Linked DNA regions of Homo sapiens: regions 2, 3, 4, 5 and 6 are each linked to region 1. Evidence: promoter capture Hi-C in human tissues and cell types (Jung and others, 2019). All regions are on one chromosome and are shown on one strand. The core of a region is centred on a gene start or on the middle of the fragment in contact, and the rest is flanking DNA. Distances in the headings are between cores, read along the strand shown. Region 1 holds the start of UQCC1 (ubiquinol-cytochrome c reductase complex assembly factor 1). Region 2 overlaps ACSS2 (acyl-CoA synthetase short chain family member 2). Region 3 overlaps PHF20 (PHD finger protein 20). Region 4 holds the start of PHF20 (PHD finger protein 20). Region 5 holds the start of TRPC4AP (transient receptor potential cation channel subfamily C member 4 associated protein). Region 6 overlaps MMP24-AS1-EDEM2 (MMP24-AS1-EDEM2 readthrough).

The links. Contacts are between HindIII fragments. The study calls those that stand out against the background at their distance.
Region 2: a fragment that was not itself captured here is called in contact with the fragment with the promoter of UQCC1 in region 1 in 1 of the 25 tissues and cell types used here (dorsolateral prefrontal cortex).
Region 3: a contact is called between a fragment that was not itself captured here and the fragment with the promoter of UQCC1 in region 1, in 1 of the 25 tissues and cell types used here (small bowel).
Region 4: a contact is called between the fragment with the promoter of PHF20 here and the fragment with the promoter of UQCC1 in region 1, in 1 of the 25 tissues and cell types used here (bladder).
Region 5: the fragment with the promoter of TRPC4AP here is called in contact with the fragment with the promoter of UQCC1 in region 1 in 1 of the 25 tissues and cell types used here (aorta).
Region 6: a contact is called between a fragment that was not itself captured here and the fragment with the promoter of UQCC1 in region 1, in 1 of the 25 tissues and cell types used here (IMR-90 fibroblasts).

The regions. Positions count from the first base shown.
Region 1 is chr20:35,410,077-35,415,105 of GRCh38, forward strand. UQCC1 (ubiquinol-cytochrome c reductase complex assembly factor 1) reads right to left here and starts at 1,897. Exons shown (of 10, transcript NM_018244.5): 1 at 1,864-1,897. The coding sequence starts at 1,887. RefSeq lists enhancers at 1,229-2,052, 1,643-1,742, 1,803-1,952, 2,053-2,875, 2,083-2,132. The HindIII fragment of the contact is 20,339 bases long and covers 1-5,029 here.
Region 2 is chr20:34,907,121-34,912,149 of GRCh38, forward strand. All of the region lies in intron 2 of ACSS2 (acyl-CoA synthetase short chain family member 2), which reads left to right. Among named protein-coding and RNA genes, the nearest start is that of ACSS2, 33 kb to the left of the region's middle. The HindIII fragment of the contact is 4,448 bases long and covers 24-4,471 here.
Region 3 is chr20:35,843,346-35,848,374 of GRCh38, forward strand. It overlaps PHF20 (PHD finger protein 20), which reads left to right. Exons shown (of 18, transcript NM_016436.5): 4 at 4,005-4,089. Among named protein-coding and RNA genes, the nearest start is that of PHF20, 74 kb to the left of the region's middle. The HindIII fragment of the contact is 7,233 bases long and covers 1-5,029 here.
Region 4 is chr20:35,769,830-35,774,858 of GRCh38, forward strand. PHF20 (PHD finger protein 20) reads left to right here and starts at 2,186. Exons shown (of 18, transcript NM_016436.5): 1 at 2,186-2,250. It also overlaps the pseudogene LOC124904972. RefSeq lists silencers at 2,254-2,633, 3,638-3,932. The HindIII fragment of the contact is 9,618 bases long and covers 1,144-5,029 here.
Region 5 is chr20:35,090,117-35,095,145 of GRCh38, forward strand. TRPC4AP (transient receptor potential cation channel subfamily C member 4 associated protein) reads right to left here and starts at 2,691. Exons shown (of 19, transcript NM_015638.3): 1 at 2,498-2,691. The coding sequence starts at 2,665. RefSeq lists an enhancer at 377-936 and a silencer at 2,463-2,592. The HindIII fragment of the contact is 9,696 bases long and covers 1-5,029 here.
Region 6 is chr20:35,139,117-35,144,145 of GRCh38, forward strand. It overlaps MMP24-AS1-EDEM2 (MMP24-AS1-EDEM2 readthrough), which reads right to left. Exons shown (of 15, transcript NM_001355008.2): 8 at 3,257-3,362. It overlaps EDEM2 (ER degradation enhancing alpha-mannosidase like protein 2), which reads right to left. Exons shown (of 11, transcript NM_018217.3): 4 at 3,257-3,362. Among named protein-coding and RNA genes, the nearest start is that of EDEM2, 5.7 kb to the right of the region's middle. The HindIII fragment of the contact is 7,283 bases long and covers 1-5,029 here.

The DNA of each region.
Region 1 (5,029 bases), core at 647-3,146:
ATTACAGGTGTGAGCCACGGCACCTGGCCAGGAATACCTCTCTGTGGTTCAGTTTTCTTATCTGTAAAATAGAGGAAATAACACGCCCTCCTTTCCAAAGGGATGTTATAAGGATTAGGTAAGTATTTTAAAGTGCTTAGCACGTAGTAAGTGCCCTATAAAATGATAGTTGTCAGGCCAGGCTCGGTGGCTCATGCCTGTTATCCCAGCACTTTGGGAGGCCGCAGGAGGCGGATCATGAGGTCAGGAGTTCGAGACCAGTCTGGCCAACATGGTGAAACTCCATCTCTACTAAAAATACAAAAGTTAGCCAGGTGTGGTGGCAGGCGCCTGTAATCCCAGCTACTTGGGAGGCTGAAGCAGGAGAACTGCTTGAACCCAGGAGGCAGAGGTTGCAGTGAGCCGAGATCACACCGCTGAACTCCACCCTGGGTGACAGAGCGAGACTCCATCTCAAAAAAAAAAAAAATACAAAAATTAGTCAGGTGTGGTGTGGTGCATGCCTGTCATCCCAGCTACTCGGGAGGCTGGCACAGGAGAATTGCTTGAACCCGGGAGCAGAAGTTGCAGTGAGCCCGAGATGGCACCACTGCACTCCAGCTTCGGCGACAGAGCAAGACTCTGCCTCAAAAAAAAAAAAAAAAAAAACAAAACCCTAAAGGGTGGCAGGGGAAGGATTAAAAAAAAAAAAAAAAAAAAAACCACTAAATTCAGAACATTCTAATTGCCATTTCCCCAGCAGTCCTCATTTCTGAATCAATTTCTGGCCTGAAATCAAACAATCACTTCACCAGGTGAATCTTTCTGGCAGTTACAGGGGCTACTCTACAAATAAATATTTACTGAACAGCAGTCGAGGGTACCTCACTCTGCTAGGCTGGCAAGGAATACAAGAAGTAAAACTGTCGTCCTTGTAAGACATATATAAAAAGATCAAAAACACAAATGTAAAATAACAATTCAGAAGTTACCTAGACACAGGAATAGACCATGTCTACTATGAAAAACAGTGTCTTTGACCCAGTTTTTGAAGACTCGCTAAAACTATACACTCTCCCATCCCTCCATGATTAAAAACTAAGCTCTGTATCCTAACGTTTTTTCTGCTGCCACTTTCTTTTCTCCTTTAATTGCTAGAGAAAAGAGTATGCTAGAAGGGTCAGGACTAAATCTCAAGAGGTGCAGTAGTTTCACACACGGGTGCTAAAGAGTCTGGTAGTCTTTCCTTACTTCATTCATTTATTCAACAAGTAATCATTTAACACCTATGATGTGCCAGACACCATGCTAGGCAAAGTGAAAACGACGGAGACAGACATGACTCCAATTCTCACGCAGCTTTCAATCTAATAATCTATATTCCACTTAACTGTACAGTTAAGAACTGACTTATTACCTATGAAAGAAACCCTGAGAATCTCAGAATCTAAAGGGACTGCAGGAGATAAATGTCCTCGTTTTTCACATAGGGTCAATGAGGCCCAAAAGTGACTTGCTTAAAGTCACTATGCATCAGTGACAGTCAGGGACTAGAACCCAGGCCTCCTGAAACTCCAATCAGTGTCCTACATGCTCCTCTCCCTGAGGGGAAGCAGGTACATGGGGGAGGGAAGGAAAAGTAAACCCCATCAAATAAAGGCCAGATGTCAGTCTTCCCCTTCTCGAAAGATGGGGGAGCTAAGGTCAAAACGGGGTAGGAAGAGGTCGGAAGCTGCCTCAGTTTCCCCACGGAAAAGCGGCCACTCAGCCTAGCTATAACACAGGCTTCCCTCCTGCGATTCCTTCCAATTCCTCCCGCCCTGCCTTGTCGAACTCCAACCCGGGACCCAGAGAGCTACCGTAGAAAATTACTCCTTCACTCACAAGGACTCGCACCAGCAACGCCATGTTCCTCAATAACCATTTCCGGGTGAAGAGTGAGTTTCCGGTGTCCCCTTTTCTACGTCCTCCTTTTGCCGGCGAAAGACTGGCAAGGGGGGCGCAGGCGCAAAGAGGTCGCTACGCGCACGCGCTGTTGTTTTCTCGGCTGTGCACCAGGCTGTCGTGCCCGGGCACGCTCTCCCTGCTGTCTCCCCCACTACACGTAACAGTGGTTCAAATCCTTCCCCCACGCCTGTCTCCTTGACCCCAGACCTCGGGGCTTCTCATATCCCTCTCTTTATTCCCCACCTAACCCAGCCTCACTCCTCAGCCCCTCCTTCCCAAACTCCACCCCAACACTTTTCAATGGAGGTTGAAAAGAACAGGACTTTAGGAAATCCCAATCTTTAGAAAGAGCCAGAAGACCGGGCGCGGTGGCTCACGCCTGTAATCCCAGCACTTTGGGAGGCCGAGGCGGGCGGATCACCTGAGATCAGGAGTTCGAGACTAGCCTGGCCAACATGGCAAAACCCCGTCCCTAACTAAAAATACAAAGAAAGTAGCCGGGCATGTTGGTGTGTGCCTGTAATCCCAGCTACTCTGAAGGCAGAGGTTGCAGTGAGCCGAGATCGCGCCACTGCACTCCAGCCTGGGCGACAGAGCAGGACTGGACTCTGTCTCAAAAAAAAAAAAAAAAAAAAAAAAAAAAAAGCCAGAGAAGGAGGCTAAGATAAAAGAATACGGGGGATACCAGACTCCTGAAAGTCAAGGCAAGAAGGCGGTCATGTGCCGATCTGAAGCCTGGTAGAGGAAGAAACTTTTGGGATTTGTGGTTGGTTGGTTGTTTAAGGGAAACATCTTTGCATATTGATAGGAAAAGATTAGTGAAGAGTATACAGGGCCGTGCCCGGTGGCTCATGCCTGTAATCCCAACACTTTGGGAGGCCGAGGCAGGTGGATTGCCTGAGGTCAGGAGTTCAAGACCAGCCTGACCAATATGGTGAAACCCCGTCTCTACTGAAAATACGAAAAAAATTAGCCGGGCATGGTGGCGTGTGCCTGTAATCCCAGCTACTTGGGAGGCTGAGGCAGGGAATCGCTTGAACCCGGGAGGCAGAGGTTGCAGTGAGCTGAGACTGGGGCACTGAACTCCAGCCTGGGTGACAAAGCGAGACTCCGTCTCAAAAAAAAAAAAAAAAAAAGAGTATACAGGAGAATCAATCAAAGAGGCAAGGAGCTTCTTGAGGAAAGTGGCAGAGAACGGCCTTGGTAGAAGACTCCTCTTCCATTACATCCCAAGAGAAGAGAAGACAAAGTACTGGTGCTTTGGGGGTTGAGGGAGCAGAGGGGCAGGATGTTGAAGGACTTCTTTCATTTCATTCAGTCAACAAAGACCTATTGAGTCTTCCCTATGTGCTGAACACAAGACATACTGGCTTCATGGAGTTCTTAGACTGGTGGGGGAGGCATAGGAACCCAGTGAAAAAAATTAAAACTGGGGAGCTACTTTGGTTAGGTTGGTAAGGCCTCTCCAAGAAAGTGACATGTAAGATGAAATCTAAAGGAAGAAGAGGAGCTAGTCATGGGAAATAACTTCACTCGACTATTTTTTTAATTAAATTTATTGATTTTTATTAATTGACAAAAAATATATATTGTGTACAACAGGATGTTTTCTTTTTTCTTTTTTTTTTTTTTTTTGAGACAGAGTTTCACTCTTGTCGCCCAGGCTGGAGTGCAGTGGCTCAATCTCGGCTCACTGCAACCTCCACCTCCCAAGTCAAGCGATTCTCCTGCCTCAGACTCCCAAGTAGCTGGGATTACAGATGCGCACCACCACGCCTGGCTAATTTTTGTGTTTTCAGTAGAGACGGGGTTTTGCCATTTCGGCTAGGACGGTCTCAAACTCCTAACCTCAGGTGATCCACCCACATCGGCCTCCGAAAGTGCTGGGATTACAAGAGTGAGCCACCGTGCCCCCGGCCAGGATGTTTTAAAATATGTATACATTGTGAAATGGCTAAGTCAAGCTAATTAATATATGCATTACCTCATATTTTTGTGCTGGAAATGTTTAAAATATGTTCTTTAAGCAATTTTCAAGAATACAATACATATTCATAGTGGGTATAGTCACCATGTTATACAATAGATCTTTTCTTTTTTTTTTTGAGACGGAGTTTCACTCTTGTTGCCCAGGCTGGAGCGCAATGGCGTGATCTTGGCTCACTGCAACCTCTGCCTCCCGGGTTCAAGTGATTCTCCTGCCTCAGCCTCCTGAGTAGCTGGGATTACAGGCATGCGCCACCACGCCCAGCTAATATTATATTTTAGTAGAGACGGGGTTTCTCCATGTTGGTCAGGCTGGTCTCGAACTCCCGACCTCAGGTGATCCGCCTGCCTTGGCCTCCCAAAGTGGCCTCCTGAACTTATCTCTCTTAACTGAAATTTTGTATCCTTTGACAAACATCTCCTCAGCCTCTAGTAACCACCATTCTACTCTCTACTTCTGTGTGTTCAACTTATATTCCACATATGAGAGAAATCAAGCAGTGTTTGTCTTTCTGTGCCTCATTTATTTCTCTTAACATAACATCCTCCCAGTTCATCCATGTTGTCATAGATATGAGCATTTCCTTCTTTTTTTTTTCCTTGAGACAGAGTCTTGCTCTTGTTGCCCAGGCTGGAGTGCAGTGGCACAATCTTGGCTCACTGCAACCTCTCCCTCCCGGGTTCAAGCAATTCTCCTGCCTCAGCCTCCCAAGTAGCCTGGACTACAGGCATGTGCCACCACACCCAGCTAATTTTTATTTTTAGTAGAGATGGGGTTTCTCCATGTTGGTCAGGCTGGTCTTGAGCTCCCGACCTCAGGTGATCTGCCCACCTTGGCTTCCCAAAGTGTTGGGATTACAGGTGTGAGCCACCGCACCTGGCCAGCATTTCCTTCTTCTTTTAGGCTGAATAGCATTCCATTATATATATAAATCACTTTTTTTTTTTTTTGAGACAGAGTCTTGCTCTGCCGCCCAGGGTGGAGTGCAGTGACACAATCCCAGCTCACTGCAGCCTGTACCTCCTGGGTTCAAGCAATTCTTGTGCCTCAGTCTCCCAAGTAGCTGGGACTACAGGCACGTGCCACCATGTCCGGCTAATTTTTGTATTTTTAGTA
Region 2 (5,029 bases), core at 998-3,497, 500 kb before region 1:
ATGTGTTTTTTTTTTTTGAGACAGTCTTGCCCTGTCACCCAGGGTGGAGTGCAATGGCGCAATCTCAGCTCACTGCAACCTCCATCTCCTGGGCTCAGGTGATCCTCCCACCACAGCCTCCTGAGTAGCTGGGTTTACAGGCATGCGCCACCATGCCCGGCTAATTTTTGTCTTTTTAGTAGAGTTGGGGCTTCGCCATGTTGGCCAGGCCGGTCTCAAACTCCTGGCCTCAAGTGATCTACCCACCTCAGCCTCCCAAAGTGTGGGATTACATGTGTGGCACCTGGCAAAACAGAATGATTTGATAGAGAGTTTCTGAAGGGGCACACTGTGCACATAGGTGGCTACATGTATATGGTGGTTGTACTTGCAGATACAGATAAGTCCATGTTTGAATCCTGGGTGCATATATTTATCCTTGTTTGTGCCTATGTGTGCAGATGGGCAGCTTTTATGCCTAGAATGTTTGTATATTTATATGTGATTTTATACAAGTGAGCGCACATAGGTGAGTTGGTATGTGGTTTGCATATGGGGACACATGTGCTTGGGTATGTATATGTTGGCATTCAGCCATAACCGGAGACGTTCTGAAGTTCCTGTGGCACTTGTCAGTGAGCCAGTTAAGGAAATGGCTTTTCTGCCTCTGGCATTCAGGGCCGTTTGCCAGCTTCCTCTCTCCCTGTTCTTTCCCACTTTAGTAAGCTCCCTGTGTTTGGCTTCTCTCATCCCTAGGAGGGTTAAAGCCTACTGACTCATCGAGCCAGGAACTGGAAAAAGGCTGATAATCTTCTGTGTGACCTCTGTTAGTAAGAAAAGGCCTGGCTTCCCTGCCAGTCCCTGTCCTTCACACTATGAGGGAGAGTCCTGACTTGAAATCAGAAGACCTGAGCATCTATTCTTGGCTCTGCCACTTATTATTGTGTGACCAATAATCTCTCTAGGTTTCAGTTACCTCCTTCATAAGTGCTCTGTGCAGTAAGGAAGGAGAGGGGAAGCAATGGTCTGTGGTGCTAAGGGAGAGCCAGATGGTGCTGGTGTCTGAAGGAGGAGGGAGAATATTCTGAGCAGGGGCAATGATGTGGCCAAAAGCGTGGAGGTGGACCTGAACTTGCCAAGGGAAACCAGGGATCCACTTACAGTAAAATTCAAACTTCTTACTATTGCCTACAAGGCTCTACGTGATTTGGCTGCTGCCTACCTCTCATTCTTACCCAACTTCTTGCTCACTGAAATCTAGCCATACTGTCTTTCTTTCTTTCTTTGAAAAGGTCTCAGTGCCTTTTCACTTGATGCTCCTTTTCCCCAGAATACTCTTCCCAAGAATTAGTATGATTGCCTACCTCTCATTATTCAGGTCTTGGCTCAAATATCACCTCTCCAGAGAGAGGCCTTCCAGGACCATCTTATTTAAAGTAGTTGTTCCCTAATATTTATCAATATTTAAAATGCACACATCAGCCAGGCACGGTGGCTCACGCCTGTAATCCCAGTACTTTGGGAGGCCAGGGCAGGTGGATCACCTGACGTCAGGAGTTCAAGACCAACCTGACCAACATGGTGAAACCCCATCTCTACTAAAATGCAAAAATTAGCCAGGTGTGGTGGTGCACGCCTGTAATCCCAGCTACTCAGGAGTCTGAGGCAGAAGAATTGCCTGAACCCAGGAGGCGGAGGTTGCAGTGAGCCAAGATCGCGCCATTTTACTCCAGCCTGGGCAACAGGAGCAAAACTCCATCTTGGGAAAAAAAAAAAAAAAAAGCACACATCTCTTGAACCAACAGGTCCACTTCTGGTAATTCATCCTACAGATATACTTGCAGGTGAGTAAAGTGACATAAAAATAAAAATATTCATTGAAGCATTTATTTGTTAAATAAATTACAGTACATACAAATAGTGGAATATTTTGCAGCTGAGAAAGATAATGAAATAGCTCTTTAAGCTTGGCACCGTGGCTCACACCTGTAATCCCAACACTTTGGAAGGAAGGCTGAGGCAGGAGGATTGGAGGATCACTTGAGGCCAGGAGTTCCAGACTAGCCTGAGCAACATAGTAGGATCCTGTCTTTGCAAAAAAAAAAAAAAAAAAAAAAAGGTAGCCAGACATGGTGACTCTGGCCTGTAGTCCCAACTGCTCAAGAGGCAGAGGTGGGAGGATCACTTGAGTCTGGGAGGTTGAGGCTGTAGTGAGCTGTGATGGTGCCACTGCACCCCAGCCTGAGTGACAGAGTGAGACCCTGTCTCAAAAACAACAACAACAACAAATAAAAAAGAGAAATAGTTCTTTAAGTCTTGGTGAAGAATGATATCAAGGTATATTGTTAAATTTGAAAAATCAAGATGATCAATTTCTACACATAAGATTTGTGCATTTTATTGAATGCATATAATAATTAACAAAAGATACAGAATAGTGTGTATTGTATGCCATCATTTGTGTAGAAAAAATGAGACTATGTAAACAAATGCATGTAGTATATATGCTTGTCTGACAGACCTGTCCCTTAAGTAGAGCAGTTCTTCCTACCCCTGTTACCCTGTGCTTGACTGGGGACTATGAGGTGTTCATCTCTTTTCTGAACAACATTAAAATCCTTTTTTTTTTTTTTTTGAGACAAAGTCTTACTCTGTTTCCCAGGCTGGAGTGCAGTGGTGTGATCGCCGCTCGCTGTAGCCTTCACCTTCTGGGTTCAAATGATCCTCCCGCCTTAGCCTCCCAAGTAGCTGGGACTACAGGCGTGCACCACCATGCCCGGCTAATTTTTGTATTTTTAGTAGAGATGGGGTTTTGCCATGTTGGCCAGGCTGGTCTCAAACTCCTGACCCCAGGTGATCTGCCTGCCTTGGCCTCCCAAAGTGCTGGGAATACAGGTGTGAGCCTCTGTGCCTGGCCAAATTTTTTTTTTTTTTTTTTTTAAACAGAGTTTCACTCTTGTCGCCTAGGCTGGAGTGCGATGGCACGGTCTCAGCTTGCTGCAACCTCCATTTCCCGGATTCAAGCGATTCTCCTGCTTCAGCCTCCTGTAAAATTCAGTTTTTTAACATTCAATTTTCAAATTTTGGTCTTCAATGATATCTCAAGGGTCTTATTAAAGATCATAATGATACAGACTTCTTGCAAAGTAATTATTTTGGTCATTCCACACTAGTTGAATTACCCTAGCCCTGTGTCCTACAAAGAATGGTCCTGTCTGAATATTGATTGTTTCTGGAAAGTCACACAGAATATTGGTAACTGTTTTGCCCTGGGCATGGTGGCTCACGCCTGTAATCCCAGCACTTTGAGAGGCTGAAGCAGTTTTGCTTGAGGCCAGGAGTTTGGAGACCACCCTGGACAATATATCGAGACTCTGCCTCTATGAAAAATTTTAAAATAAAAAAATTAGCCAGGTGTGGTAGCATGTGCCCGTAGTCCCAGCTACTCAGGAGGCTGAAGTAAGAGGATTGCTTGAGCCCAGGAGTTGGAGGCTGCAGTGAGCTATGATTGTGCCTCTGTACTCCAGCCTATCAATAGAGTGAGACCCTGTCTCTAAAAAACAAATCACAAAACCCAAACTGTGGTTTGCCAGTAGGCAGGGTGATTGGGAGATAGGAGTGGGGAGAACACTTCTCATTATGTATCTTTTTATGTAGTCCCACTTGTATGTATTACTTATTCAAAAAAATCATAAAATTGGAAAAAAACCACTAAGGGAAACATTTATTTATTTATTTTTTGAGACAGGGACTCACTCTGTTGTCCAGGCTGGAGTTCAGTGACATGATTACAGCTCACTGCAGGCTTGACCTCCAGGGTACAAGCGATCTTCCTGCCTCAACCTCCTGAGTAGCTGAGACTACAGGTGTGCACCACCATGCTCAGCTAATTGAAAACGATTTTTTTTTTTTTAGCAATGAGGTTTTGCTGTGTTGCTCAGATTGGTCTTGAACTCCTGGTCTCAGGTGATCCTCCTGCCTTGGCCTCCCAAAGTGTTGGGATTACAGGCATGAGCCAAGAGATCTTCCCATCTCATCTTTCTGAGTGGCTGGGACTATAGGTGCATGACACCACACTCAGCTAAAATTTTTTTTTTTTTTTTTTGAGACAGAGTTTCATTCTTGTTGCCCAGGCTGGAGTACAGTGGCACAATCTTGGCCCACTGCAACTTCCGCCTCCCAGATTCAAGTGATTCTCCTGCCTCAGCCTCCCGAGTAGCTGGCATTACAAGCATGCACTACCACACCCAGCTGATTTTTGTATTTTTAGTAGAGACGGGGTTTCTCCATGTTGGTCAGGCTGGTCTTGAGCTCCTGACCTCACGTGATCCACCTGCCTCGGCCTCCCAAAGTGCTGGGATTACAGGTATGAGCCACCGTGCCCAGCCGGATCCAGCTCAATGTTTTTAGAGATGCGGTCTTGCTATGTTGCCAGGCTGGTCTTGAACTCTTGGCCTCAATAGATGGGCCCACTTTGGCCTCCTAAAGTGTTAGAATTACAGGTGTGAGCCACCGTGCCTGACCCAAGATAGTATATTTTTTAAAAGTATTTCTCCCTAGTCACTCATTTTTATATCATTCTGCTCTATTTATAATGCTTATCATAATCTGAAATTATCCTGGTTATATTTGTTATTTGTTTATTACCCACACTATCATTGGAATATAAGCTCCATGATATCAGGTATCTTACTTATGTTGTTCATTGGTGCCTTATTTCTTCTTTTTTTTGTTTGTTTGAGACGGAGTCTTACTCTGTCGCCCAGGCTGGAGTGCAGTGGCGTGATCTTGGCTCACCACAACCTCCACCTCCCTTCAAGCTATTCTCCTGCCTCAGCCTCCCAAGTAGCTGGGATTACAGGCGTGTGCCACCACACCCAGCTAATTTTTGTATTTTTAGTAGAGGCATGGTTTCACCACATTGGCCAGGCTGGTCTCAAACTCCTGACTTCAGGTCATCTACCTGCCTCAGTCTCCTAGTGTGTTGGGATTACAGGAAAGAGCCACCACGCCCCGCCCATTGGTGCCTTATTTCTATACATGTAGATAG
Region 3 (5,029 bases), core at 1,837-4,336, 430 kb after region 1:
CACCTCTACTAAAAATACAAAAAATTAGCTGGATATAGTGGCGGGCGCCTGTAATACCAGCTACTCGGGAGGCTGAGGCAGGAGAATCGCTTGAACCCAGGAGGCGGAGGTTGCAGTGAGCCAAGATGATCATGCCACTCCACTCCAGCCCGGGTGACAGAGTGATATTCCATCTCAAAAAAAAAAAAAAAAAAAAAAGTGATCATTCCATGTAGAACGTTGTACTAAGTCTCATATGCAAGGTCTTCTTCTTTTGAGACAGGGTCTTGCTCTGTTGCCCAGACGGGAATGCAGTGGTGCAATCATGGCTCACTGCAGCCTCAATCTCCCAGGCTCAAGCGATCTTTCCACTTCAACTTCCCAAGTAGCTGGGACCACGGGCCCACCACACCCGGCTAATTTTTAAATTTTTTTATAGAGACAGTGTCTCGTATTGTTGCCCAGGCTGGTCTTGAACTCCGGGCTCAAGTGATCCTCCCGCCTTGGTCTCCCACAGTGCTAGGATTATAGGTGTAAGCTCGTCCTGCAGAGTCTTTTATAAGCCCTTAAAGAACTTGGAATTGATTGGACTGTATTCCATTTTTCTAAATTTTATCTCTATGCCTGGAGCTTTTACTGACTTCAAAATGCAGTATGAAGTATTAGTTTTAAGGTTTTTTTGTTTTGTTTTGTTTTAAGCAGTGAAAGCACAGATTTATTGAAATGAAAGTACACTCCACAGAGTGGGAGCGGGCTCAAGCAAGTAGCTCAAGAGCCGTTTTTTTGGTTTGTTTTTGAGACGGGGTCTTGCTCTGTTGCTCAGGCTGGAGTGCAGTGGCTCGATCTCACCTCACTGCAACCTCCATCTCCTGGGTTCAAGCGATTCCCCTGCCTTATCCTCCTGAGTAGCTGGGACTACAGGTGCGTGCCACCACACCTGGCTAATTTTTTGTATTTTTAGTACAGATGGGGTTTCACTGTGTTAGCCATGATGGTCTCGATTTCCTGACCTCGTGATCCGCCTGCCTCGGCCTCTCAAAGTCCTGGCATTACAGGTGTGAGCCACCGCGCCCAGCCGGTTTTTTTTTTTTGGTTTTTTTTTTTTTTGATAATGTTGTCCAGCTTTATTTTTGCTTTCTTGCCAAAGATTTGTCAAGCTCCTCACTCTGTCATTATAAAATTCCCACCCTGAGAATCTCCCATTTTTCTTCACCATCACCACACACACACACACACACACACACACACACACACACACACACACACAGGCTGAAACAATAAAATATAAAGTTCATCCTAAGAAGAAGATATCGAGTCCAAAGAGGGTTATCAACTTTAGAAAAGAAGCAAAGAAATCATAAAATAATGATATTTTAAGATTACAGATTAAGCCCTAATTTAGAATATTTTTAGAAATTTTATCATATTAAAACAAGGGTGAAGGCACTATAGACTCTTGTTTTTTAACTAACTTTATTTAAATTAGCTATACCCATTTTAAGTGTATGATTTCATAAGTTTTGTGTAATAAGCTTAAATTTAATAAGCATTTAAATTTGTGATATAAAAATCACCCATTTTAAACTGTATAGTTTAATAAGTTTTGCAAATTTATATTGTCAGATAGCCACTGCCATATGATACACAATATTTTCATTATGACAAAAAGAAGCTCTCCCTCAAATTGCTTTTCATTCAGTCTTCACCAGCCAGTCCTGGACCAGTTCTGGACCCTGGCTTGCCACTGATCTATCTATTTTCTGTTTATAGTCCTATTTTTGTTTGGTTTTTCATTTGAAATAAAATCATACTGTATGTAACATTTCGGGTCTGACTTACTTCAATTAGCATATCTTTTGAAGCTTCATTTATGGTGTTTTTTTTTTCTGTTCCTGTAATAACAGTTTGTTTTATTTTTTTAATTTTATTTATTAATTTTTTTATTATACTTTAAGTTCTAGGGTACATGTGCACAATGTGCAGGTTTGTTACATATGTATACGTGTGCCATGTTGGTGTGCTGCACCCATTAACTCATCTTTTTTTGTTTTTTTTTAAAGAGACGTTTTCTTGCTCTGTCGCCCAGTCTGAAGTGCAGTGGTGCAGTCTTGGCTTAATGTAGCCTTGACCTCTTGGGCTCAAGCAATCCTCCTTCCTCAGCCTCCTGAGTACCTGGGACTATAGGCATGTACCACTGTGCCTGACTAATTAAAAAATTTTTTTTGTAGAGACAAGGTCTTATTATGTTGCCCAGGCTGGTCTTGAACTCCTGGCCTTAAGGGATCTTTCTGCCAAAGAAGGAAGATCCTTCGTACCTCCCAAAGTCCTGGGATTATAGGCGTGTGCCCTTGTGCCTGGCTAGTTTTAAGGTTTTTAAACAGGCATTGAGACATCTATAATGGTCCTGCTGCTTTTGGATCTGACTCAGACTCAGCCCTGCCTTCTATTTTTCTTTCTTTTTTTTTTTTTTTTTGAGGCAGTCTTACTGTATGGCCGAGGCTGGAGTGCAGTGGCATGATCTTGACTCACTGCAACCTGTCTTTCGGGTTCAAGTGATTCTCGAGTCTTAGCTTTCTGAGTAGCTTGGACTACAGACGCATCCAACCACACCTGGCTAATGTTTGTATTTTTAGTAGAGGTGGGAGTTCATCATGTTGGCCAGACTCCTGGCCTCAGGTGATCCACCTTCCCCAGCCTCCCAAAGTGCTGGGATTACAGGCACGAGCCACTGTGTCCGGCTTATTTTCTGTTTTAACCCTATTAGGGAACTTGAACTATTGCTGGCCTTTTTTTTCTTTTTCCCAATTAAGGATTATTCAGTATTGTTCCATTTGACTTTTCAGTGTTCATTCTACAAATTTTTTTTTTTTTTTGAGACAGAGTCTCACTGTATCACCCAGCCTGGAGTGCAATGGCGCAATCTCGGCTCACTGCAACCTCCACCTCCTGGGTTCAAGTGATTCTCCTGCCTCAGCCATCGAGAAGCTGGGATTACAGGTGGCCGCCACCACACAGGCTAATTTTTGTATTTTTAGTAGAGACGGGGTTTCACCATGTTGGCCAGGCTGATCTCAGGTGATCTGCCCACCTTGACCTCCCAGAGTGCTGGGATTACAGGTGTGAGCCACTGCACCTGGCCCATTGTACAAAATTTATCAGTGCAAACTGTGTGCTGGGAAAAGAGTATAAAATATTAAAGGTGAATGGTTGCTTTCCCTGGCAAAAGACCCTTTAGAAGTGTAGATGGCATTAAATGCTGCTTCCCTGAGTATGAAGTAGCCTCATATCTTCTGACTCCTATACTGGATGTGTATTCTAGTAGTCCTGGCCTCTTAGACTCATTTTCAGAATGTATGCTGGTTAGGGTGGAATTATCATCAGTGCTGTTCTGTGCCTGCCCAGACCTCTTGGGCTTATTGAGGTCTTGTGTCCCAGCCCTTTTGTTTTGACTCCTGTCTTAGTCTTTTCTGTGTTGCTATAATAGAATACCTGAGACTAGGTAATTTATAAAGAAAAGAGGTTTGTTTAGCTCACAATTCTGCAGGCTGGGAAGTTCAAGTGCATGGTACTGGCTTCTGGCATCAGCTTTCATGCTGTGTCATACATGGTGGAAGGTCAAAAAGGGAGACAAGTGTGAAGAGAGGGACCAAACAGAAGGAGACTTGCTTTGTAACAACTTGCTTTCTTGGGAATGAATCCATTCCCAGGAGAGCGAGAAGTCACTCCTGTGAGACAGCATTAATCTATTCATGAGGGATCTGCTACCATGACCCAAACACCTCTCATAGGCCCCATTTTCAACACTGCTGCACTGAAAACGTTTACTTTTGGTGAGGACAAATGACACCGAAATTATAGCAACTCCTAGTGTTGAACAACAGAAATATCTTCCTCCATCTCAACAGCTACTTTCCCTTCACACTTTCTTATCAATCCCAGCTTCTTTTATGAGATCTGGTATGTCCTGTATGTCCTGTGAAATTAGGTTGGTAACAGGATCTTTTTTTTTTTTTTATGTTTTTTAGGAATTTCAAATAAATGAGCAGGTCCTTGCTTGCTGGTCTGATTGTCGTTTTTACCCGGCCAAAGTCACTGCTGTTAACAAGGATGGTAAGGCATTTGAGTTGTAGTTGTTTTTACTCATGACTTAGGTGGTGGGGGGGGATGTTTGTAATATCAGAGCTTGATAGTATATTTTCAGTATTTATTTACTGCCTAGGTATCCGCTTTATTCAAGTTAATCACTATGTCAGGAGTTGGGTAGAAATTATAAGTGTAAAGAAAACTGGACAAAAAAGATAGTTTGACTTTTTACCCCCTGAATTTCAGTCATTGTTTTCTAAAACAGTCACAGTTCATCTGTCACTCTGCCTGGAAGTATGCAGGTACTTGCTGTCTAGGAGTTCCTAATATAATTGATGACATAGTCCTGAATATTTGTGAATAGCTTAGAAATTAAATGAACACTAACAAACTTTAAAAAATGTGCTTTCTAGATGCAAGGTGACTGAGGGTGGTCTGTAACATTGGAGTTGCTAGTGGAAACTGGGATGCCGGAATTTAGAGCACTGAGTTGGGTTTCATTTGCCAGAGTTGAACATGTGAAGAGACAGGATGGGGAACTTGACTAATAGAGGCTCAATTTTGCTAGTAAAAGGGCAGACAAAGAGTTATGAGGATAATATGTACGGTCAGGATCCTGGCACCTGGAGAATAGAGTCTGGGTCCCAGTGATACCATTGTAAGCACATTCCACTAGGGTGTGTGTGGTCTCCATGATCTCTGAAGTGAGTGTTTAGGGAAGTCAGGCCTCTTGATGCCACTGTAGGGTTGACTATTAGGCCAGCCTGACTTTTCATTTGATGAAGTTATTCAGATATTTATTAATACTCTGCTAACTGCTGGGCCTCAGGCTGACCAAGTTTTGTCTGAGAATGATTTTTTTTTTCTTGTTCTTTTTTGGGACAGAGTCTTGCTCTGTTGCCCAGGCTGGAGTGCAGTGGTGCCAGCTCAGCTCACTGCAACCTCCATCTCCTGAGTTCAAGCGATT
Region 4 (5,029 bases), core at 936-3,435, 360 kb after region 1:
GGGGTCATGTGAATCTTTTCTGTATTGTTACAATTTTATTTTATTTTATTATTATTTTTTGAGATGGAATCTTGCTCTATCACCCAGGCTAGAGTGCAGTGGTGCTATCTCGGCTCACTGCAACCTCTGCCTCCAGGGTTCAAGTCATTCTCCTGCCTCAGCCTCTCAAGTAGCTGGGACTACAGGCATGCACCACCACACCTGGCTAATTTTTGCATTTTTAGTAGAGAGAGGGTTTCACCATGTTGGCCAGGCTGGTCTCGAACTCCTCACCTCAGGTAATCTGCCCGTCTTGGCCTCCCAAAGTGCTGGGATTACATGCGTGAGCCACCGCGCCCAGCCATGTTACAATTTTAATAGAATACATGTACTGCCCAAGCAAGTGTAGCTGAAGCTTTTGTCCCTGGTTCCACAGTGTCTCTACCTAAGGGCTGCTCTTTGCCCTGACTACCTCAACTGAGGCAATACCCTCCTTAGTTTCCAGCCCTGGTTTAAAAAGCACCCCTCAGGCTGGATTTGCTGGCTGAGGCCTGTAATTCCAGCATTTCTGGAGGCTGAGGCAGGAGGATCACTTGAGCCAAGGAGTTTGAGACCAGCCTGGTCAACAAAGTGAGACCCTGTCTCTAAAAAAAAAAAAAAAAAAACTCGGCCGGGCACGGTGGCTCACGCTTGTAATCGCAGTATTTTAGGAGGCCGAGGCGCGCGGATCATGAGGTCAGGAGTTCAAGACCAGCCTGGCCAAGATGGTGAAAACCCGTCTCTACTAAAAAAAATATAAAAAATTAGCTGGGCGTGGCGGCGTGCGCCTGTAATCCCAGCTACTTGGGAGGCTGAGGCAAAGAATTGCTTGAACCCGGGAGGCAGAGGTTGCAGTGAGCCAAGATCGCACCACTGCACTCCCGTCTGGGCTACAGAGCGAGACTCTATCTCAAAAAAAAAAAAAAAAAGTGGCCAAGTACGGTGTTAATTCCAGCACTCTGGGAGGCTGAGGTGGGTGGACTGCTTGAGCCCAGGAATTCAAGACCAGCCTGGGCAACATCGTGAAACTGCGTCTCTACAAAAAAATGCAAAAATTAGCCAGGTGCACACCTGTGGTTCCAGCTATCTGGGAGACTGAGGTGGGAGAATTGCTTGGGCCTAGGAGGTGGAGGTTATGAGGAGCCGAGACTGCGCCACTGCACTCCAGCCTGGGTGACACAGTGAGACCGTGTCTCAAAAAAAAAAAAAAATTAGCTAGGCATGGTGGCATGGGCCTGCAGTCCCAGCTACTCAGAAGGTTGAGCTGGGACCACAGGTGCGCACGTTCACGCCTGGCTAATTGTTGTATTTCTTGGAGAGACGGGGGTCTAGCTATGTTGCCCAGGCTGGTCTCGAACTCCTGAGCTCAAGTGATCTACCCACCTCAGCCTCTCATAGTGTTGGGATTACAGGCGTGAGCCACTGCTCCTGGTCTCATATTCTTTTGGGGTGGCTTCAACTCCGACCTTCGTCCCCAGAGAAAATACAGCTCCTTATCCTTAGCAGCAATTGGAAACCTTTCTAGGAGTTAATGATAAAGTGGGGGAGAAATGAGTGCAAAGGCTCTGAGATGAGAAGAACCTGGATTGTTAGCGGAGTTGAAGGACACTGAGAATGTGGGGGAGCTGGATTCGTGAGGATAAGAAAGCAGCAGGTCAGGTCCAGACTTTGAAGAGCCTGGTAGATAGTCTAGGTGAAGAGTTAGATCTTAATCCGGAGTAGGGAGGGAAACGAGCTTTGAGCAGGGGATGGCGTTTTGAAAAGACCTCTCTGCCGGTGTACGAAGAATGGATTAGAACGGCGAAGAGTAATAGGGTGGAAACCATCTTCATCTTGGAGAGAGATGGTGGTCGCTTCGATGGAGAAATGGGAAGCTTTGAGACGCATTTAGGTGGCAAAATTAACGGGTGATGGATAGCGTCCATTCCCCGGCTTCGGTGATCTCAGTGATTACGAGTGAGTGGGGACTTCGTGTTCCTGCTAGGGCGCGGGCCTGTTTCCCGCGCGTCAGGGTAGTGGGCGTGGCCTGCGCAGGCCGTTGCCACAGTGATCGGGCAGACGGGGCAGGGGGCGGGGCAGCTGGGACCTTACGTCACTCGGTGGTGGCGATGATGCGTGTGTGTGGGGGGCGGGGCATACGCTGGGCGCGTCCCGGGGGTCACGTGGTGCAGAGCACGCAGAGTCCTTCTGTCGGTTGGTCCTGGAGCGGCGCAGCCGGAGTGGGGCCGTGAGGTGAGCTCGCGGCCAGGCGAAGCCGGCCGGCCGGGCCGGGTTGGGCCGGGCCCGCGCTGCGCGCGCGCCGTGCGGGCGGGGACGGCGACGGACGCCACCGCTGCTTCGGTCCCCTGCCCGGCCCCGCTCCCCGCCTGGCCCCGCTCGCCCAGCCTGGAGGGAGGCCCTGGGACTGCTGCTGAGAGCGTGGCGGGCGTGCGAGCGGTGCCCAATCCCCGGGGCTACCCGCAAGAGTGGCGGCGGCTGCCGCCAATCAGCGCCGCCCGAGGGGGCTGGGCCGTGGGGTGCGGGCCCGGGGCGCGGAGCGGGCCGTGTTGGGGGTGCGGGTAAGCCCTAGGGCCCGAGCCTGAGCTGTGTGGGCACCTAGAGCCTCATCAGCAGCCTCTGCTATTGCCTTGCGCTTTGGGAATATGTTTTTTAAAATTGGCTTTTTTTATCCTATTCTGGGGAGCACATTCCTTTCTCAAGACCCCAAATATGGGAGTGTCCCTTTTCTCTATAGTTTTGAAAACTGGGCGGCACACCCCCTTTCTTAAGCTCTAGCTCTGGAATTTTATCTAAATTTCTAAAAGCCCTCCCCCCCCCAAATTTAGGGCGTACCCTCTTCCGTCAGCCCCCAAAGTGGGAGCACATTCCTTTTTTCGGGCCTCCAATTTGATTCTGCATTTCCGTTCCAATTTAGAGGTTCACCCTGTTATCGGGTCCTCAGATCTGGGGTCCATTAGCTAAAGTTTTGGGATACTTTCTTGTATCCCCTCTACTCCAAGGAAGAATTCCCCTTTTCCAGGTCCCAAATCTGACAGCATGCCTTCTGGAATTTCTTACATTTAGGGGCCACTTCCTTTCCTCAGCCCTTCAAACCTGAGGTTGGGCCGAAAACAATGTCCAAATTTTGAAGTTTATGGGTACTTATTTCCAGTTTCACAAATAAGGGAATTCACTGCCTTCTCCCGAGACTGTATTATTGGGGTTACACACTTTTCACGTGTTCCCCAAATCAAACTACCTTATTTCCTGAAGGAGACTCATTTTCATATCTGGGAGTATATTTGTTTCTTGTGCCCCCCAAATGTACGAGGTGAACCCCTTTTAGTTATACAACTCTCAGAGTGCAGCCACTTTCCAGATGCTTCTTAAATTTGGGGGGCACACCTTTTTGTGAGTCCTCTCATTTCCAGGTGGCGAGTGGTCTGTGGTTTTGAGCATGCCTTCCTACCCTGTTTAGCTTTTCTGTCATCCAAGACATTTTCATTCCTCAGTTTCCTTCCCTTTTTGGAGCCACACTCCCCTTGAGGTGCTTTCCCCAGTCTGGTCAGTGCACCCATTTCCTCTTCCTCTGGCGAGTGCGTATCTTTGTTCAGCACGGCACTTTTCTCTGTGCTTCTGCGGGCTTTTCTTCTGAGCACACTTCCCAGAGTCACACCTCCTGAATTCTCCTCTCCTCCCAGGGAAGGATTCCTCTCCTAAAGGGCTACCAGCACATTGTTTTTGATAGGCCTATCTTTTATCTTTCCGCTAGCAGGATCTCTTCTCTCTTGGCTTGCCCAATCCCCAAACATTTTTCTGGTTTCTGTCTTTCTTTGGAATTGTTCTGTTTACCTAGTGGCTATAAAGATTTTCCTTGTGCTGGAGGTGGCCTCAAGTCTAGGACTGCCTGGGCCCCCAGCGCTGGATTCAAAGTGGAAACCATTTCTTTGGTTAATCACAGGACTCTGAATCCTCCTGGTGGTTTACTTCTAGAAGACCTAAGATTCTGTTTAGGTGCATACTGTTTTCTCCTTTGCTTTATCTCCTTGTGCTGGAAAACAAAAACAAACAAAACTCTCAGATTTTTCCAGCACTGCTTCTAGCCCATAAACTTCTTCCCTATATTGGCTTTCTTACTATCTTTTATGAAGAAAAGATGTCGTTTGGAGGAATCCCTTGGATACTCTTTTTGTTCTTGTCCCTGGGGTGTCGGTGGGGAAATGGATATTTTTCTCTCCCAATCATCCTCTTGTCAATCTTCTTTTTTTTTTTTTGAGACAGAGTCTCGCTCTGTCGCCCAGGCTGGAGTGCAGTGGCGCGATCTCGGCTCAGTGCAAGCTCCGCCTCCCGGGTTCACGACATTCTCCTGCCTCAGCCTCCCGAGCAGCTGGGACTACAGGCACCCACCACACCGCGCCCGTCTAATTTTTTTGTTTTTAGTAGAGACGGGGTTTCACTGTGGTCTCGATCTCCTGACCTCGTGATCCACCCGCCTCCGCCTCCCAAAGTGCTGGGATTACAGGCGTGAGCCACCAAGCCCGGCCAACCTCTTGTCAATCTTTACCCCCAATCCTCACATTAAAATCTGCAAATATCTGGGACCTCCTATCTCTTAAGAGCCTCAATAGTTCTTTCTTTTGTGTTTCCTTCTGCCTTTACAGATCTTATTCAGGGCTTCTCAGCCTGAACCCCCAACCAGATTAATTTCTCCACAGCTGGAATTCCAAGTGCTTGGGGATAATGATACCTCTGACCTTTCTTCCTTTTGGGAAGTACTTGAGTGTGCAGCTGCATGAGGCCTCAGCAGGAGAGAGATTTTAGGTCCAAGAAGCTATACCAGTAGGACAAGGCAGGAAAATACTACACTTTCAGGATCAAGCCCCTCTGACTCTCATTTGGAAACTGGATGTTTGCTAAGCACCTGCTTCTTAAGGATGCCGAGGGATTTAATGATACTCCCAGAAACCTGGAGAGATTAATGGGGCCTATGGAGAAGTGCTCTGAACTCAGTGTTGGGACTTGAATAAAATTA
Region 5 (5,029 bases), core at 1,441-3,940, 320 kb before region 1:
TAAGCAAATAACTTATTCTGCAGGATGGGAGAGAGGAGCGGAAGGGCACAGCATGGAATAAATTAAAAAAAAAAAAAACTAAGAAAAGAAATATTTGAAAGATGAAGGTCCCCATTTTATCCTCACTATAGCTCCAGGCAGGGGGTCTCTACTTCAACTTCTGAAATAGCTCCCACACCTATATACAACCATCAGTTACCACAATAACCTGCCTTGCTTTTGTGGCTCCAGAATATTCCAGCAGCCTTGTATCTGGTGAGCTTTTTTTTTTTTTTTTTGAGATGAAGTCTCACTATGTCACCCAGGCTGGAGTGCAGTGGCGTGATCTCAGCTCACAACCTCCACCTCCCAGGTTCAAGCAATTCTCCTGCCTCAGCCTCCAGAGTAGCTGGGATTACAGGTGCTTACCACCACGCCCGGCTAATTTTTGTATTTTTAGTAGAGACGGGGCTTCGCCATGTTGGCCAGGCTGGTCTCAAACTCCTGACCTCAGATGATCCACCCGCCTCGACCTCCCAAAGCACTGGGATTACAGGAATGAGCCACTGTGCCCAGCCTCTGGTGGGCTTTTCTAGGCTCCTCCCATTCTAAGTCATTCAGCACTGGAAACAAATTAAGTTGCCTAAATTGCCTCATTTATCATGCTAAAGAACTTCTGTGGCTCCCTATTATTCTCAGAACACTGATTATCAGGATGGGTGTTTAGGAACATATCATCTAACCTCTCTGAGCCTCAGTTTCCTCATCCATATTAAGAAATGAGTCTTGAAGCATAACTCAAAAGCTTGAGGATTAAAGATAACATATGCCTTGTACCGTACTTTTTCTAAAGGTTATGTGCTCACTAAAAGTTAGTCCTCTTTCTGCCTGTCTCTACACACCCAGCTCGGTAAGGTATCTTAGCTTAAGAAGGAAAGAGCAAGTATTTCTAGGATTTTTTTTTTTTTTTGAGACAGGGTCTCACTCTGTCAATCTCCGCCTCCCAGGCTCAGGTAATCCTCCCACCTCAGCCTCCCCACAGGCACACACCACCACCATGCCCGGCTAAATTTTTGGAGACACAGGATTTTGCCGTGTTGCCTGGGCTGGTCTCGAATTCCTGGATTCAAGCGATCTGCCTGCCTCGGCCTCCCAAAGTGCTGGGATTACAGGGTCTTAAGTCAGGTCTTAAGAACACAAGGGGGAAAAAGGCTGCTCATCTATGGTTGTGTGATGGCCAGGAAAACATTTCTCACTCACAACTGCTCCTTTCGTCCACAGTCCTCCATACACACAGACCCCCTAGCCTTTATTTTATTCTATCCTTTTCGTCATTTGAGGAAGTGATATTCAAATTAAATTTAAATAAAGTTACACTGTGAAAAGTCTCACTCCCATTTTCTCCCCCTTTAGCCCAATTCCCACCTCACTCCCACCAACCACTTTATCAGTTTCTTGAGTATCCTTCAAACTTTTTATGAAAAAGCTGTCTTTAAATAAAGCTAATGTTTTACAGGTGTTAGCAAGGTTCGGGGTGGGGGAGGGTGGAAGAAGTAGTGGACTAGGTCCTATTCAACCTGGTTTACCCTAAAGCAGTGTCCTTCGCTCACTCAAAAATAACAATAATCATATGTTGGGCACCTGTTATAAGTCAGATGCTTAATATTAACTACCTTCAGCCCTTAGTATGCACCAGAAATGCACTAATGCTTTACACAATTGCCCCCTTTGATCTCCACAACAATCTTAAAAGGTAGGTTACTAATTCTCATCTTCATCTTACAAGTGAGGAAACTGAGGCACAGAAAGGTCACCTGCCCAAGCAAGAGAGAGGAGCAGGGCTTTGAACCCAGGCCTGACTCCAGAGTCCCTCTTAACCGTGACGCTCTACACTAGCAAACCAGATATAGTCTCTGCACCCGCTGGAACTCAGCCTAATGTGGGAGACGGGCGAGAAAAAGGCAGACAACAAAGAAATACGAAATTATAGACTAAGAAAGTAATGTAAACGAAACGAATTCGCGGCTGTGACAGAATAACAATGGGGACCTACTTTAGAAAGGGGAAGGAAAGAGTGTCAAGGAAAGGCCTGAGAAAATGACATTTATGAAATGCTCGGGAACCATTTGGGGGCTGCAATGATGACCCCCTCCCCCACGCCCAATACACGGGATAAACTCGAGGCCCACAGAGGCTAAAACAAACACGACAGGGTCCCCCAGACGTGTAGACGTGGCGCAAAGAAGGGAGGATCCAGAAACTGGGCCCAGGGTTCGTACACGCCATCAGTGTCCACAGCAGCCCAGCCCCGCTCGGCCCCTGACAAGGGACATCAAGCCAGCTGCTTCCCACGGCCCCGCTGCAGCTGAGAGCGTCCGGGCAGCTCACAGGGAGGCCTTCCGGCCAGCCAAAAGGGCTTTGGCCCGTCCAGCGGCGGCCTGGAAAGGCCTCTTCCCCGGCCCCCCGCCAGCTCCCGCCTGGTCCGCCCCGCCCCGCCCCTCCTGGTCCAGCCTCGTACCTGCACCGCCCGGACCAGGCCCCGGCCGGTCAGCTGGCCCTGCCGCAGCTGCAGCAGAATGTTACCAGGCCGCGGCCGGCCGCCCCATCCGCCCCAAGCCGCCACTGTGGCTGCCGACCGTCTCCCTCGGCCGGCTCCAGACCCAGCCGCTACCGGCGCCGCCGCCATGTCTCCTCGTCGGACAAACAGGAAGCAAGCGGCCTCGGGGCCGCGGAGATTTCTACGGGGCGGCGGAGGGGTCGCCGCAGCGCCCCCAGTGGGCCGTCGGCGGAGGCGCAAGCCGCGTGGCAGGGACCGTGTGCGGCGTGGAGGCTACTGGGAATTGTAGTCCTGCGCGGCAGCGGGGTAGGTGGGAAAAGAGATGTGGCCTTTCCTGCACTGCCGGTTTCTCTGGCCCCCGGGCCCAGCATTTCGGCGAAATCTCCCAAGGTCCACATTCTCCCATTTCTCTCGCCGATTTGGGCAGGATGCAGGCAGCTGGCCAAGAAATGATCCTGGGCTTCAGGTCAGGAGTCAGGCCCTCGAGTCCGCTTCCTGCCTGCTTCTCTCTACACGTGACTCACCGCGGACATCGACCAAGTCATCGCGCTCTGCCACTGCGCCTGTGTCCTCGTCAGGTCACTCCATCTATAGATTCTGGGAGCCTGATCAATCGTAGTTCCTGGGGCTTTCTCTGCGCCCGACACCAAACCATGTCTAGGGGAAAGGGAGGGTGTCTGGGATACAGTGGTGAGCAGAACGGCCTGGGATCCTTTATCACGAAATGCAGGTTACAGGGGAAGACAGCAGATCCATACACAAAGAAACGCAGTCTCAAACTGGATAAGTTGTGTAACTGGGTAGGTTGTTGTGAAATTAAATAATGGAAGGGAAAGGGATTAGTAAATTGTGACATCATATTCTCTGTCAGATGAAAACCCTGTCCTAATTTCTATCCACCAGATAGCATGTTGTCTCTAATACTCATTTTTTCAGCTAACTTCTGTGGCAGGATGGCACTGACTCCCCCCACCCAACACACACACACTTTTTCCCTTCCTAGCAGGGGGCCTGTAATAAAAATGAAAGAGGAGAGCTAAGTGTGATGTAACAGGGAATGGTGAAGATTGTGACTCATAACTAAGATGACTGTAACTTACTGCTCAAACCAGAACACTTTAAAGAATGAAAAGACACAATAAATAATTACACCGGGACGGTAGGCATAAAAGTGACTCTCCCAGGTGAACTGGCACTATGGTTACCATCCTCACACCCCATCTAAAAGGAGTAGACTCACCATCCATCTTCATAGAACTAGAAAAAAGAATCCTAAAAATCATATGGAACCAAAAAAGAGCCTGCATGTCCAAAGCAAGACTAAGCAAAAAGAATAAATCTGGAGGCATCACATTACCTGACTTCAATCTATACAATAAGGCCATAGTCACCCAAACAGCATGGTACTGGTATAAAAATAGGCACATAGACCAATGGAACAGAATAGAGAACACAGTATAAAACCAAATACTTATAGCCAACTGATCTTCGATAAAGCAAACAAAAACATAAAGTGGGGAAAGGACACCCTATTCAACAGCTGGTGATAACTGGCAAGCCACATGCAGAAGAATGAAACTGGATCCTCATCTCTCACATTATACAAAAATAAACTCAGCCGGGTGCAGTGGCTCACACCTGTAATCCCAGTGGCTCACACCTGTAATCCCAGCACTTTGGGAGGCCGAGGTAGTCAGATCATGAGGTCAGGAGTTCGAGACCAGCCTGGCCAACATGGTGAAACCCCATCTCTACTAAAAATGCAAAAATTAGCTGGGCGTGGTGGCATGCACCTGTAGTCCCAGCTACTTGGGAGGCTGAGGCAGGAGAATCACTTGAACCCTGGAGACAGAGGTCACAGTGAGCCGAGATCACGCCACTGCACTCCAGTTTGATGACAGGATGAGACTCCATCTCAGAAAAAAAAAAAAAAATAGCCAAAGAAGTTACAGTCAGGAGATATTTTGTTCCCTATAGAAACTGAATATAACATCTTAAAATTTGTCCCTGAGTGTTGTTTCTTAGAAACTCGAACCCCCACCAAATGGATCTGCTGATAGGCAAACTCAGATAAGGGAGAGCTGAGAACTAAACTTTGACTTCTATTTTTTGTTATAAATTTCTTCCTAGGGGGCCTGGAGGAGGACACGACCATAAGTCAGAGCTAACATTCTTTTCTGCAGATCCCAAATTTTTAGACAAAGCTTTACCTCCTTAACCAATTACAAGTCAGAAAATCTTTGAATCCACTTGTGGGCCCCTGGTTGGAGATGTCCTGTCTTTTTAGGTGGAACCAATATACAGCCCCTATGTATTGATTTATGACTTCGCCTGTGGCCTCTGCCCTCCTGCCATTAAAAACCTGTAAGCCGGCTGGGCGCGGTGGCTCACACCTATAATCCCAGCACTTTGGGTGGCCGAGGCAGGTGGATCACCTGAGGTCAGGAGTTCGAGACCAGCCTGACCAAAACGGCAAAACCCCGTCTCTACTAA
Region 6 (5,029 bases), core at 1,782-4,281, 270 kb before region 1:
CCGAGGTGGAGATCACGAGGTCAGGAGATGGAGACCATCCCGGCTAAAATGGTGAAACCCTGTCTCTACTAAAAATACAAAATATTAGCTGGGCGTGGTGGCAAGCGCCTGCAGTCCCAGCTACTTGGGAAGCTGAGGCAGAAGAATGGCTTAAACCCAGGAGGTGGAGGTTGCAGTGAGCCAAGATTGCACCACTGCACTTCAGCCTGGGTGACAGAGTGAGACTCCGTCTCAAAAAAAAAAAAAAAAAGTCTGGGCACGGTGGCTCATGCCTGTAATCCCAGCACTTTGGGAGGCTGAGGCAGGTGGACTGCCTGAGCTCAGGAGTTCGTGACCAGCCTGGTAAACACGGTGAAACCCTGTCTCTATTAAAAATACAAAAAATTAGCCGGGCATGGCGTTGTGCGCCTGTAGTCCCAGCTACTCGGGAGGCTGAGGCAGGAGAATTGCTTGAACCCAGGAGGCGGAGGTTGCAGTGAGCTGAGATCATGACACTGCACTCCAGCCTGGGCGACAGAGCGAGACTCCATCTCAGAAAAAAAAAAAAAAAGAAAAGAAAGAAAGAAAAGAAATCTACATGTATGTACCTTATGGTAAAACTGCAGAACACCAAAGGGAAAAATGATCTCGAATGCAGCCAGAATCCATGTAATAATAATTATTAATGCTGGGTGATGGGCACGTCTGGTTCATTATGCTATTTTCTCTACTTTTATGTTTGAAGTTTTCCATAACAAAAAGTTTTTAAAAGGAGAAGACAGCCAAAGTGAAAACCAAAACAAGATTCTCTACAAATAAATAATAATTACATTGACAGATTACTTCTTAACAATAATGAAACCAGAAGATAATGGAAAAAGTTTTTAACACAATAAGAGAAAGTAACCATCAACCTAGAACCATACACCCAGCAAAAATATCACTCAAAGGCCAACCAAAGGCAGTTGAATAAAGACATTTTCATATAAACAAAAGCTGGGAATGTTTATGAAGCACACACCTGCATTAAAGGAAATTCTAAAGGAAATACTTTAGAGAAAAGGTCTGAGACACGAAAAGAAAAAATAGTCAAAAAAGTGGTAAATAGGCCAGGCACAGTGGCTAAACCTGTAATTCCAGCACTTTGGGAAGCCAAAGCAGGTGGATCACTCAAGATCATGAGTTTGAGACCAGCCTGGCCAATGTGGTGAAACACCATCTCTACTAAAAATACAAAAATTAGCCTGGTGTGGTGGTGCACAACTGTAATCCCAGCTACTCTGGAGGCTGAGGCAGGAGAATCGTTTAAACCCAGGAGGTGGAGGTGAGCCAAGATCGCGCCACTGCACTCCAGCCTGGGTGGCAGAGTGAGACTCTATTTCAAACCAACAACAACAAAAAAAGTGGTAAATTTATGTGTAAATGCAAAACTTCAACAATATAGAACAAAAATTATAATGTATGGAAGGTTTAAAACAAATAACTAAAATATATAACTGTAGCATATAGGTCAGGATGTTCTCTAAGTCAGGTTTTGCATTATTCAGGAGGAGAACAAAGATTTTCATTAAATTTAGACTTTGATAAGTTATGTTTGTTAAATTTGCTTGGAAAACTATGTAAAAAGCTAGATATTGTGCATAATTTCCATATTAGTAAGAGGAAAATGGAATGGGGGGAAAACAATCTAAAGAAGGCATGAAAAAGGACAGAATAAAGGAACATAAAGAAGATGGCACAGGGCCAGGTGCAGTGGCTCACACCTATAATCCCAGCACTTTGGGAGGCTGATGGGGGGCGGATCACCTGAGGTCAGGAGTTCGAGACTAGCCTGGCCAACATGGTGAAACCCCATCTCTACTAAAAATACAAAAATTAGCAGGGCACGGTGGCAGGCACCTGCAATCCCAGCTACATAGGAGGCTGAGACAGGAGAATCGCCTGAACCCGGGAGGCAGAGGTTGCAGTAAGCCAAGATTGCACCACTACACTCCCGCCTGGGCGACAGAGTGAGACTCCGCCTCAAAAAAAAAAAAAAAAAAAAAAAAAAGAAGACGGCACAGAGAGCACAATACTGTAGAAATGAGTGCAAATATATCAGTAATTACAGTAAATGTAAATGGATTAAATGTGCCAGTTAAAGATTGTCAGAATGGATAAACAAAATATAATACACTATTTGCAAAAGATGTATCTAATCATAAAACTACAGAAAGATGGAAAGGATAGAAAAAGATACATGGGAAAATGTCAACCAAAAGAAAGCTGGTATCACTTATATTCCTATCAGAAATAAAGGTATAAGAATGACCTTCATTTACAGATGACAAACTGGGCTCAGAAGCTGGGAGACATAGCAGCAAGTACAGCCTCAAACTCAGGCCGGATTCCTAAACCAGGATTTTAGACCATGTTGTCCCTCTGCTCTCTTCTCTTTTTTAATCTTTTATGGATCATATGTCTGGAATATAAGTTTCATTGCAGAAAACATACAAAATAATGGGGAAAAATAGAACTCTGCCATCCAGAGGTGACAGCTGTTAAGTGGTCTAGAGGTTCGATGCAAATAAGGGCTGTGCTGGCTTCACAAGAATCACTGGAAGTCTGCTAAAAATACTGATTCTAGGACCCAACACAGAGATTCCAATTCATTAGGTTTAGGGTGGAGTCTCAACATCTGAATTTTTTAACCACTTGGGAGTGGTTCCTATGGGCTGCCAAGTTTGGAAGATTAATGCTGTAGATTTGCACTGTCCAATACAATAATCACTAACTACATGTGACTACTTAAATTTAATATCATTAAAATTAAATGAAATTAAAAATTCAATTCCATAGTTGTAGTAGATACATTTCAAATGCTCAATAGCTCATGTGGTTCGTGGCTACCATACTGGACAAAACACAGCTATAAGACATTTCCATCACTGCAGAAAATTGGATTGGACAGACAATAAGTTCCAAGAAGGCAAGGATCATATCTTTCTTGTTCATAGCTGTATGCCTAGTATCAAATACATATTAAAGAGGTGAGTAATCTGGTGTATTTCTTTCCAGTCTCTTAGTCTCCTGCTCACTTTCATATCTGAAACTGATGGGGAAATCCTGAGACTTCCCCACCTCACCCTCCAGGAGGGAAGAAGAGCTCTGTCGGTCAGAGGTTTTGGCCAAGGGTCCTGGCATGGTCAGTCCTTAAAATCCTATTTACCACTTCTTGGTTTACAGAGGCAACTTCACACTCTTTTTTCTTTTAAAGGTCCTAGAGAGCAGCCCTTACCTCGAATGTTTGTTTCAAACACAGAGGCGTTCACATCAATATCAAAGTCCACGCTGTCCTGGAGCACTTCAACCACTCTTTGGAATTCTGAGACATTCCCCAAAATCTGGAAATAAAAAAGAGACCTGACAATGAGGCTCTTACATGCATGGAGGCAGATTCAGAGTCTGGGATCCTATGTTGATGTGGCCCTCACTAATTCCACTTAAGACCTCCAGTTTCTGTCCTAGGATTGGTGACAGCAGAAGAAAACACTGAGAGCTAGAAATCATCTAGAGACTTCATACCAAGAGACTGGTTAAGTAAATTCCTAGGTCCCAATTAAGAGTCACGATGTTGTCATTTAAATGGACACAATATAAAGAACGCAAACTACGCATAGAAGTCTTAGGTTTTTTGTTTCGTTTTTTTGAGACAGAGTCTCGCTCTGCTGCCCAGGGTAGAGTGCAGTGGCGTGATCTTGGCTCACTTCAAACTCCGCCTCCTGGGTTCAAGCGATTCTCCTGCCTCAGCCCCGAGTAGCTGGGATTATGCACCACCATGCCCGGCTAATTTTTGTATTTTTAGTAGAGACGGGGTTTCACCATGTTGATCAGGCTGGTCTCAAACTCCTGACCTCATGATCCACCCGCCTTGGCCTCCCAAAGTGCTGGGATTACAGGTGTGAGCGACCGCACCTGGCCAAAAGTCTTAGTTTGACATTTGCAGTAGATACCAGTTGTCACCTTCAACCTTGTGGAAAACAGAACAGGTTGGTTGGCCCAAAACAAATTCATTCCTACCCTCTTTACCTCATGGCCTCCCACCAGAGGTTGGAAATCCAGAAGCTTTCTCGGCCTCCTTTGCTGCTGCAGTTGATTGTGTTACCCAGTCAATTCTGACCCTTGAGAGGTCTACTGGGGGCACTTCTGGGAAGGCTTCTGTTTTCTTAATACCAAGGGACAAACACAGCTAACATGGCTTTTAGTCTCTCTCTTTCTGCCTTGAACTCAGACTCGATTTCTGAAGTGATGGCAGCTATGTGAGACCATGACGTACTAAGCATTAGAATAAAAGCCAAAACACTAACGATACTAGAATGCAAAGCTACAAAGAGGCTGGTCTCTAATGACACAGTTGCGTAGCTGACCCAATGCTAGAAATTACCTCTAGACTTTCTTTTACTTGAGAAAATAAACCCTCTTTATTTAAACCGTTAGCCAAATGCAATCTCAATCTCTCTTCTTTTGATAGTAACATCTCAATTTACCCTCGAGGAATCACTCTTCCCCGGCAGTCACTCCTGTGGTTTGGGAGAGGCTGATCCCATCCCTCTAGCTGTGGAGTGGGTACTTGACCTGAACCAGTCCAAGTCTTTTTTTTGAGACAGGGTCTTGCTCTGTTACACAGGTTGGAGTGCAGTGGTGTGATCATAGCTCATCACAGCCTCGAACTCTGGGACTTGAGCAATGTTGGCCTCCCAAAGTGCTGGGATTACAGGCATGAGCCACCACACCTGGCCCTTTTTACCTTTCTAAGCATCAGGTTTCTTTTATATCTTTTTTTTGTTTGTGTGAGACAGGGTTTTACTCTGTTACCCAGACCAGAGTGCAGTGGTGCGATCTCGGCTCACTGCAACCTCTGCCTCCCTGACTCAAACAATCCTCCTACCTCACCCTCCTCCCTAACAAATGGAGCCACAGACATGTGCCATCATGCCTAATTTTTTATATTTTTGGTAGAGACGGGGTTTCACCATATTGCCCAGGCTGGTCTTGAACTCCTGTGCTCAAG